Linked DNA regions of Homo sapiens: region 2 is linked to region 1. Evidence: promoter capture Hi-C in 16 types of primary human blood cells and fetal thymus (Javierre and others, 2016). All regions are on one chromosome and are shown on one strand. Each heading gives the region's core, a stretch centred on a gene start or on the middle of the fragment in contact. The rest is flanking DNA. Distances are from core to core; before and after follow the strand shown.

The links. Contacts are between HindIII fragments. The CHiCAGO score rates a contact against its expected background, and 5 or more counts as called.
Region 2: a fragment that was not itself captured here is called in contact with the fragment with the promoter of LCT in region 1 in 1 of 17 cell types (naive CD8 T cells); the score reaches 7.9 in naive CD8 T cells.

Annotation. Positions count from the first base shown.
Region 1 is chr2:135,835,825-135,841,045 of GRCh38, forward strand. LCT (lactase) reads right to left here and starts at 1,360. Exons shown (of 17, transcript NM_002299.4): 1 at 706-1,360. The coding sequence starts at 1,345. It overlaps MCM6 (minichromosome maintenance complex component 6), which reads right to left. Exons shown (of 17, transcript NM_005915.6): 17 at 3,802-5,127. The coding sequence ends at 5,011. The HindIII fragment of the contact is 13,164 bases long and covers 1-5,221 here.
Region 2 is chr2:137,836,954-137,841,581 of GRCh38, forward strand. No RefSeq gene overlaps it. Among named protein-coding and RNA genes, the nearest start is that of HNMT, 130 kb to the right of the region's middle. The HindIII fragment of the contact is 473 bases long and covers 1,201-1,673 here.

The DNA of each region.
Region 1 (5,221 bases), core at 110-2,609:
AGTATAGGGGAGCCGAGGGGGAAGGACAGGAAACCACGAAACTTTGCCTCCAAGTCAGGGTAGCAGGACATAGACGGAAAGGAAGACAGAAAGACAATCAGTGCTTGCACAACTCAAGACTGGGCAAGGGGTATTTCAAAAATACATGTGTGTATATATATATATATATATATATATATATATATATATATGTATACATATTTTTTTTTTTTGAGATTGTGTCTTGCTCTGTCGCACAGGCTGTAGTACAGTGGCATGATTTCGGCTCACTGCAACATCTGCCTCCTGGGTTCAAGCAATTCTCCTGCCTAAGCCTCCCGAGTAGCTGGGATCACAGGCGCCTGCTACCATCCCTGGCTAATTTTGGTATTTTTAGTAGAGACGGGGTTTTGCCATATTGGCCAGGCTGGTCTCGAACTCCTGACTTCAAGTGATCCGCCCACCTCGGCCTCCCAAAGTGCTAGGATTACAGGCGTGAGCCTCAAAGATATTTTTCAAAGGAAATGCTGAGTGTTTTGCCATGTTAGCTACCCCTTCCTATCGCCAGTGGGAAATCAATTTACAATATTAATTTCTCCCTATGCACAGACATAAGAGGACTGCTGAAGGTGAGTTGGGAGAAATGTCGAATCTGCTCTAAGGAGGATGGGGAAGGTGTGTGATGAAGGTTGCCGAGGGGTCACCATCAGGTCAATGTGTACTCACCCTGAAAAGCATAGCTTTCGTGGTAAATCTCATAGGCTTTTCTGTGGGCATCACTGAGGGTCTGGAGTTGTGACGCTCTTGATTCCTGGTGGGGAAGCTCCTTGATCACTTCCTCCAAGTCACTGAAGGTGAACCAGATCCCAACTAGGTCCCCGAAGGAGTGGAAGGCGAATGTGGCATAGTCGGCGAAGAGGTCAGCAAAGGCTTCGGTTCTCCGGAGGGTGCTGGCAGGGAGGGTCTGGTGGTGCAGGATGACCATGGGCTGAAGCCGTGCAGTCTTGAGGGCCTTGAGGAGTCGCCGGTAGCACTGCACTGTTTTCTCGTCTGGATTCTGGGTGCTTCCTGCTGGGAGGAGCTGTGCCCATGACAGAAATACCTTATAATGGGTGATCTGACTGGCATGGAGACTGCTGAAGTATTCTGGCAGGAAAGTGGGCAGTGGCTGGTGACAAACATACATGTCTTTGTCCCCTGCTACAAAGTTAGAACTCTGGTCTCCCAGGAGACCACTCAGGTTGTGCAGCAAGTCATTGGTTAGAGGACCAGCGGTGGAAATGAAATTTCTATCAGACTCCCAGTCTGACCCCCAGCATGAAAAACTTAGCAGGGCAATAAAGACTACATGCCAAGACAGCTCCATTTTCTAGGAACTGTTAGGAGGTATGTGGAACCCTTACTTTATAACTGCAACTGAGGTTGTAAAATACTAAGTGATAATTAAGACTTAATATTTAACTGGGTTATCTATGATCACAAAATCAGTACACGGTTCACTAATGCAATATTTAAAAATGTAAAGATCAGGGCCGGGCGTGGTGGCTCACACCTGTAATTCCAGCACTTTGGGAGGCCGAGGTGGGCGGATCACGAGGTCAGGAGATCGAGACCGTCCTAGCTAACATGGTGAAACCCCATCTCTACTAAAAATACAAAAAATTAGCCAGGCATCGTGGCATGCGCCTGTAGTCCCGGCTACTCAGGAGGCTGAGGCAGGAGAATCACTTGAACCCAGGAGGCGGAGGTTGCAGGAGCCAAGATCATGCCACTGCACTCCAGCCTGGGCAACAGAATGAGACTCCATCTTAAAAAAAAAAAAAAAAAAAAAAGGTAAAGACCAACACAAAAACCTCAGACTTCCTATACAAGTTAAGCAGAGGAACCCGGAAAATGTCTGAAGAAAACGATTACCAATTTTTTTTGTTTTTTTTGTTTTTTGGTGACCGGGTCTCACTCTGTTGCCCAGGTGGGAGTGCAGTGGTGCGATCACAGCTTCCTGCAGCCTTGACTTCCTGGGCTCAAGTGATCCTCCCATCTCAGCATCCTGGGTAGGTGGGACCATAGGTGTGCGCCACCACGACTGGCTAATTTTTTGTATTTTTAGTAGAGATGGAGTTTTGCCATGTCACCCAGGCTGGTCTTGAACTCCTGGGCTCAAGCAATCCTCTTGCCTCAGCCTCCTAAAGTGTTGGGATTACAGGTGTGAGCCAGCGCACCCAGCCACACATTATTTTAAAATTTGTTTACATAATACAAAAATAAGTATTTTGCCCCAAATTTTCTCTTTAAAAATATGCTGAACATATTTTGTAAGAGATTCAAACAATATGGAAACATCTATGAAAAACTTGCAAATTCCTTCACCCTCCCCCCTCCTCTTCCTATAATAAGTATCTTCAGCAATATGTATCTTTCCAGTTTTCTTTCTCTGCATATCTTAATGGTTATACAGGAGTCAGAATGCCTGGGTTTAAATCTCACCTGACAAAAATTACTTAACTTTGTGCCTCTATTTTGTCACCTGTAGAATGTGGATAATTCATCATAGGCTGTGGGGATTAAATGGGTCTTTCTTGTAGCATGTATACAACAGTACAGCTCAGGGATCATTATTATTACGTAAATACAAATGGAAACGTGTATAACATTTAAAATATAGAACAATTTAACATATATGGAATTATGCCATATGTATTTTCAGCCTTTTCTTCACTTAATAGCTCTTAGAGTTCTGCCTGTATCAGAACATATAGACCCACCTCTAACAGATGCATAGCTTTCCACAGCAAGAATGTACCATAAATTAACATCTTGCATATTAAACACCGGTTGGTTTTACATTTTTGTGTTGCAAACAATGCTGCAAATGAATATCCTTATATACAGGCTGGGCATGGTCAATCACGCCTGTTTTGCCAGTACTTTTGGAGGCTCAGACTGTAGGACTGCTCAAGCCCAGGAGCTTGAGGCCAGTCTGGGCAACACAGGGAGATCATCTCAAAAAAAAAAATGGTTTTTGATTGATTGAAATGCAAATTGTCTTCCAAGTTAAATCCTACATAGAGTTAGATGTGTGCCTGTATCCGTCTGCCTTGCTAATGCCTATTATAAAACTTTTACATTTTTGATACTTTGACGTAAATATTATGTGCTTTTCTTTTTCTGATTATTTAAGAGGTGAAGCTCTTCTTGTTAATTGGGCATTTTTCTTCTGAGTTTTATCTTATTACTGATATAAAAATTCTTAATGGGAGTTTGGATATCACATATTAAAACGTGATAGAAAAATTTTCCCATCTTTTAATTTGGTTTATAGTGTCTGTTTTTTTTTAATAGACTCCCATGACTTTCCATAGACTGTAGAGGGTGAAGCCTGGGAATCTTTTTTTGTTGTTGTTGTTGCCGCCCAAGCTGGAGGGCAGTGGCATGATCTCAGCTCACTGCAACTTCCACCTCTTGGGTTCAAGCAATTCTCCTGCCTCAACCTCCTGAGTAGCTGGGATTACAGGTGCCCACCACCATGCCTGGCTAATTTTTGTACTTTTAGTAGAGACAGGTTTTCTCCACGTTGGCCAGGCTTGTCTCGAACTCCTGACCTCAGGTGATCTACTCACCTTGGCCTCCCAAAGTGCTGGGATTACAGGCGTGAGCCACCGTGCCTAGCCTTTTTTTTTCTTAAGTGAAAGCAAGGCTATTAGGAAAGTAAAGGAATAAAAAATGGTTACTACGTCAGCAGAGCAGCCTAGTCTTTAAAGATACATTACCTGATACCAGTCTTCTTATAAAAATCCCATGACAAATCTACTTGAGTATTCACTCTTGTTTTTAATGTTTGCCATTTATTTTTAAAATACTTAATTGTACATACTTGTGGAGTACATTTTGACAAGGTTTCATACAAGTTGATTCCAGGGAAAGAGATAATTATTGGGAGAAACATATTTAAATCATTGTTTTAACCTATATTAATCTGTCTTGCTTTCTACTAATAGATTTCTGGCTGCTCAAATTCACATTGCACTGGAAAGCTCAGACATCAAGGCAAGTTGAGTACTCATGGGTATTAGACTGTCCCACGTGGGCCTTAGCCTCAGACAGTTATTTTGCTTTTGTGACCTTTAACATACTTTGTGATTTAATGAATGCCATCTGTTGTTAAAAGCTGCAACACAGGAACTGCTCCACCTCATGAACATACTGATCATAGCTAAGTCTCAGGAACTGTTAGTATCATAAACGGTAATAACTTTTCCTGGAAGACCATAAAATTTGGGGATTGCTTGTAATATAGCAAATGACCTATTTCCCCTAAAAAAGCAATTTGAAAACAATCCTGAGAAATTACCCTTAGGACACAGAAGTAAAATAAATTACTAAAGAGTAATTTTAAAAAAGTATAATAAACTTTTATAAACTTAAAAAAAAAAAAAAACAACTGGAATTAACCTTGGAAAGTCATCTCTAAGGCCTCTAGCTTTCATATGAGTTCTCTAATGACTCCTTCTCATAGAAACCTCATCCATAATACCACAGTTCTACCTCTTCACTCCAGGTTAAGCAAAAAGGGAAAGTCTCACATTCAGAAGTAGATGGAAGTAATAATCAGGGTACAGTAGAAAGAAATCCAATAGACAACTTCAGAACAAGTTATTTTATTTTGATGAATAAAAGCAGTAGCTGGCAATTGAAAAAAAGTTATTTGCTCAATAGGACAGCACATACCTTAAAAGTAATGGGCCTTTTCTTACACATGAAAACAAAGGTATTGGTTATAGAGACTACACATTATTTGGTTCCAACTTCACTGGGACAGGAAACACACCAAAGGAAGTGCTGAAGCCTGTGTTGGTATGAAACCTGTGATGAATGTGACACATAGGACCATCAACTCAATTCTTGTTTCTGAAAACAAATCCTGGAAGCATCACTTCCAGAAACACTTCTGTCCCTAGCAGAGCTCCAGCCAGGCTCCAGGCCACGAGGTGCTGTGCCACAGTTCCTCAGCTCTGGTCAGTTACTTTCACTATCTCAATCTTCGAGCAAGTAGTTAGGGTTAACTACCAAGTAGGGATCTTCTTCATAGCTCTCACTTCCCTCTGTGGAGCCTTTCAATCCAGCCTGGGTGAGCTCAATTAGAACATGATCCTGTGAAACACAAATATTTGTCCTCAGGTTTCAAGCAGTATTATACCAATGTCCAGATATACAAGACTTGACCCTTCTTCCGAGTGTTTGCTAT
Region 2 (4,628 bases), core at 187-2,686, 2.0 Mb after region 1:
GGCTGGGAGGGGAAGATGCTAATTCTGGGGACATGTTCCACTGGCCCCATGGGCACATCCTCGATGGCAAGGGGCCTCCAGAAATTAGTCCAGTGTGGGGTCTTAGATGGGTCTAAAGGCAATACTCTTTGGGGTTTCTCCAAACTTTGGCTTCTTTCATTGAAGACCATTGAAGTAATGAGGAACCTCTGGGTCAAACGCCAGACAAGTTGTCTTGCAGCAAGGCAAGCTGGTCTGCTAGAGCCAGTGCCCTACAACCCTACAACCCTTTAGAATTGTTTCCTTCCTAGTATCCAGTGCTTTTCTGTAGATATGAGCCATCCATTCACAGAGGCTGTGGTGTGAACATTCATTCTCTAAAATAGGACACCTTTCCCAGGATCTCATGTATTTTATTTTAAAAGAATCTGCAATTTAAACCAAAGGAATAAATTTGCTAATCATGGAATTTCTAGCACACTGGAAAAATACATGGGGACAGGAATTTTCTTGATATAAACCTGTACTAGTTTCCTAGAGTTACCATTTCAAAAGGCCACAAATTTGGTAGCTTAGCATGATAAGAATTTATAATATTTACTTAGAGTTGTGGCATACAGGATTCTGAAATTAGGGTGTTGGCAGAACCACGCACCTCCCAGAAGCTCTAGAGGGGAATCCTTCCCTGCCTCTTCAGGCTTCTGGCGGCTCGGGTGTTCCTGGGTTTGTGATCACGCCACTGCAATCTCTGCCCCTGTCTTCATATGGCCGAATCCTCTCTGTCACACATCTCCCTGTGCCTTTCTAAGGACACTGGCCATTGGATTTAGAACTCACCTGGATAATACAGGATGAGCTCATCTCAGGATTCTTAACTTCATTACGTCTTCAAATACCTTTTGTTTTCTTTTCTAAATTAGGTCACATTCACGGGTTCTATGTGGACATATTTTGGGAGGGCTTCCATTAACTCACTATGAAATTCTCATGCATTCATAAACTAAAGGCAGATGTAGGAAGAGGGAAGTGGTGAGCACTGGAGTCCCTGCTGTGACCTCCTGCCTGTGCGAAGGCCATGACTGTTAGTCCAACATTGCAGACCTCTCGAAACTTGGCAATGCTCCTCATAGGAGAGGAACTTCACGTGTCAAGGAGAGATGGGGAGGGGAGCAACTGCATTTGAGAACATGAAGAGAAGGTTATTGTGACACTTTGCAGGGAAGCTTTAGCCACATTGAAGCAGAGTAAAGAATAAATCTTCTCTCTTTACTTTTCAAGACCCATAATTTCCTCACAACCATACCTGGAGATTAGTTTAGGACCTAAAATCTAAATTGTATTATTTTTCCCTACCCAAAGGAGACACAGAGCTATTAATAATCGACTGCTTATTAAATCTTAAGTATTTTAATAATATTACTCCGTTTTACTTCATTTTTCTTTCCCTTGTAAGAAAAATAACATTCACACCCATTATATAAATGTGAACACTGAGGCCTTGTGATGTTAAGCAACTTGCCAGGATCTCATAGATAGGAATTAGAGGAGCTGAGACACATAGAGTCCATGCTCTTTCTAGCCCGGGAGTCCATCTAGAACAGTCCTGGCCCTCTAAGTTGACTGCCTTAACATGACTGAATTTCCTCCTTTTCTCCTGAAACAGCGGTAAAACATCCTTTAACAGCAGCCAGAGAAGCTTGGGCTGAGGGAATAGATTTTCCTTTTGCTTACACTGTACTGCCATCTAGTGGCTACATAGTTAATTACAAATAATACCTTTTCTGGTGTCTTCATTCTTTTTTTGGGGGGGGTATTGGTAATTAATTGATATTTAAATATTGCTTCTAAACATTGTGATTCTATAAAAATCTACATCAACTTCATTCCTTTGCTTCCATATATGCACGCACCGCTTCTCCTGTACACCTCTCCTACATATGTGTACCCCACTTGGTCATATTTTGTGTAGCAGATAAGTGAGTTAGGCCTACCTTCAGTGCTCAGAATATGACTTGAAACATCCAGAAATTAAAATTGTATGCAAACACACCACATGCTCCCCATCCTCCCTCCTCATGGAACTGTGCTCCTTCGGCATGATCTAAATAAAGCTTGTCCAACCTGTGGCCCACAGGCCATATGCGGCTTAGGACAGCTCTCAATGTGGCCAAATTCATAAAGTTTCTTAAAACATTGTAAGTATTTTTGCAATTTTTTAAGCTCATTAGCTATCGTTAGTGTTAGTATATTTTATGTGTGGCCCAAGACAATTCTTCCAATGTAACCCAGGGAAGCCAAAAGATTGGATACCCCTGGTAAATTGACAGAAATGTTAGGATAGACTTGCTTTTGATCATGTTTTTAGATCTGCATACACAATTTTTGTCCCACCAAAGATGACGTATGCACTAAGCCATGGCAGAACTGCCTCTGGTACTGATTGCCCAGCGCACGTGCTGGAATGAGATCACCCATTGAGGGATGTGTGCTGAGTGCCTCTGTGTACAAGTTGAGCGGAAGGAGGTCTCACCGCCCCATTATAAAATATACATTCTGAAGCTGCAAGACACCAACCAGTGCTAGTATTAATCATCTAATGTGGCTGTTGTAACAAATTACCACAAATTTAGTGGCTTAAAACAACGCACTTTTATTATCTTACTGTTCTGGAGGTCAGAAATTTAAAATAGGTTTCACGGGCCGAAAACCAAGGTGTCGGCATGCTGGTGTCTTCTGGAGGCTCTAGGGGAGCGTCTGTTCCCTCACCTCTTCCGGCCTCTGGAGGTTGTCTGCATTCTTTGGCTTAGGGCCCCTTCTTCTATCTTCAAAACCAGCAACATGGCTCCAGTCCTACTCACATTGCTATCTTTCTGGTTTGCTCTCTTTTGTCTTTCTCTTCTCCACTGAAAAACCCTTGCTGGTTATATTGAGACCACTTACAGTAATCCAGGATAAAGTCCCATCTGCCTATTTTAAGGGTAGCTGATTAACAACCCTAATTCCATCTGTGACCTTAATTCCCCTTTGCCATGGAACATAAGATATTCACAGGTCCCAGGGATTGAGGCTTGGACATCTTTCGTGGTGTGGGTGGGGCATTATTCTGCATACTCAATACTCAAGAGAAGGGAAATCTGGACTGAAGTGTTTCTTGCTGGGCCATGGTGGCGATGGGAGAGGCAAGTTCCACCCAGAGATCATTCTTTCCCTTCTCGCTGCCTCTCCATCTTCACAGACTGCAGAGAGTCTTGTAAGCATGAGGACACACCCACCCTTAGATTCTGCCCACACTTTTTTGGAAGCCACACTTAACAGTAGATAGGAACATAGATTTAGACAGATTTTAATTTAAATCCCAGATTTATTCCTAGATCTAAGAACTTGAGTATATTACTAAGCTCAGTTTCTTCATTATTAAAATGGGTGAAATACCTTCCTCCTAGTATTGTTGCAAGGCTTAAATAAAAGAGTCTCCAAAGAGCACTTAGCAGAGCACATGGCATATATTAGGACCTCATAAAGAAGAGTTTCTGAAAATGAAGGTTTTTCTATTCAATATTTAATGGGAGATTAACTAAACACTTTGCTGATGCTTGGGGAACAAGGGAAGGACAGTGTCTATCCTCACTGAATTAACTCCAAGTGAATGAAAAAAGATTTCATGTGTGAAATTAGAGACCAAGTTACAGCCTATGATAGGTACAGAATTTGCCCAATCATATACCTTTAGGTGCAAGTGCATTTGTAGAGAATGTTGAAGAGAAAGACATAGCCATAAAAAGGAATGAAACAACATTTGCAGCAACTTAGATGGGGTTGGAGGCTGTTATTCTAAGTGAAGTACCTCAGGAATAGAAATTGTATGTTCTCACTTATAAGTGGAGCTAAGCTATGAGGATGCAAAGGCATAAGAATGATATAATGGACTATGGGGTCTTGTGGGGGAGGGTGGGAGGGGGTGTACACTGCTCGGTGACAGGTGCACCCCATGATCACCACTAAATCACCACTAAAGAATTTATCCATGTAATCAAAAACCACCTGTTCCCCAAAAGCGATTGAAACAAAAAGTAAAATAATAAAAATTACAAAAGGAGGAAGATAATCTTTCCTTAATTCTTTCTATTCTTCATTTTCTTGAACATGCATACCCATGTACCTACCTAGGTGAGTATTTCCATACTGTATAAGAATATACGTGGAAATATGGTCATTTTGACCTGTTTCCTAATGGTGGTTGGAGACATATATATGTACCGCTACCACACACACACACACACACACACACACACACACAAGCCATCAAGTCATAAGACCTATTTTGCCCTAAAAATAAGTAAACATTTGGCAATAAAATAAAAACGTCTTTGAAACAATCTTATTATACTAAAGGTTATTGTCAGGTGGAAGTCCTGAAATAATGAGTTTAAAAGTTCATTGCTTATGAGCTACCCCAAAACAATTTACTTAAATTATTTTTTTAATCTATGCTTTTAGGTAGGCTAAATCTATGTGTTCCCTATAGTCTTTTTTCAGTAACTTTACTTATGAATATGTTCATTAAAGAAGGTAATTTTTACAACTATTGTAAAATTTTTTGAATTTGTGACATCTAATGATATGGTTTGGCTGTGTCCCCACCCAAATCT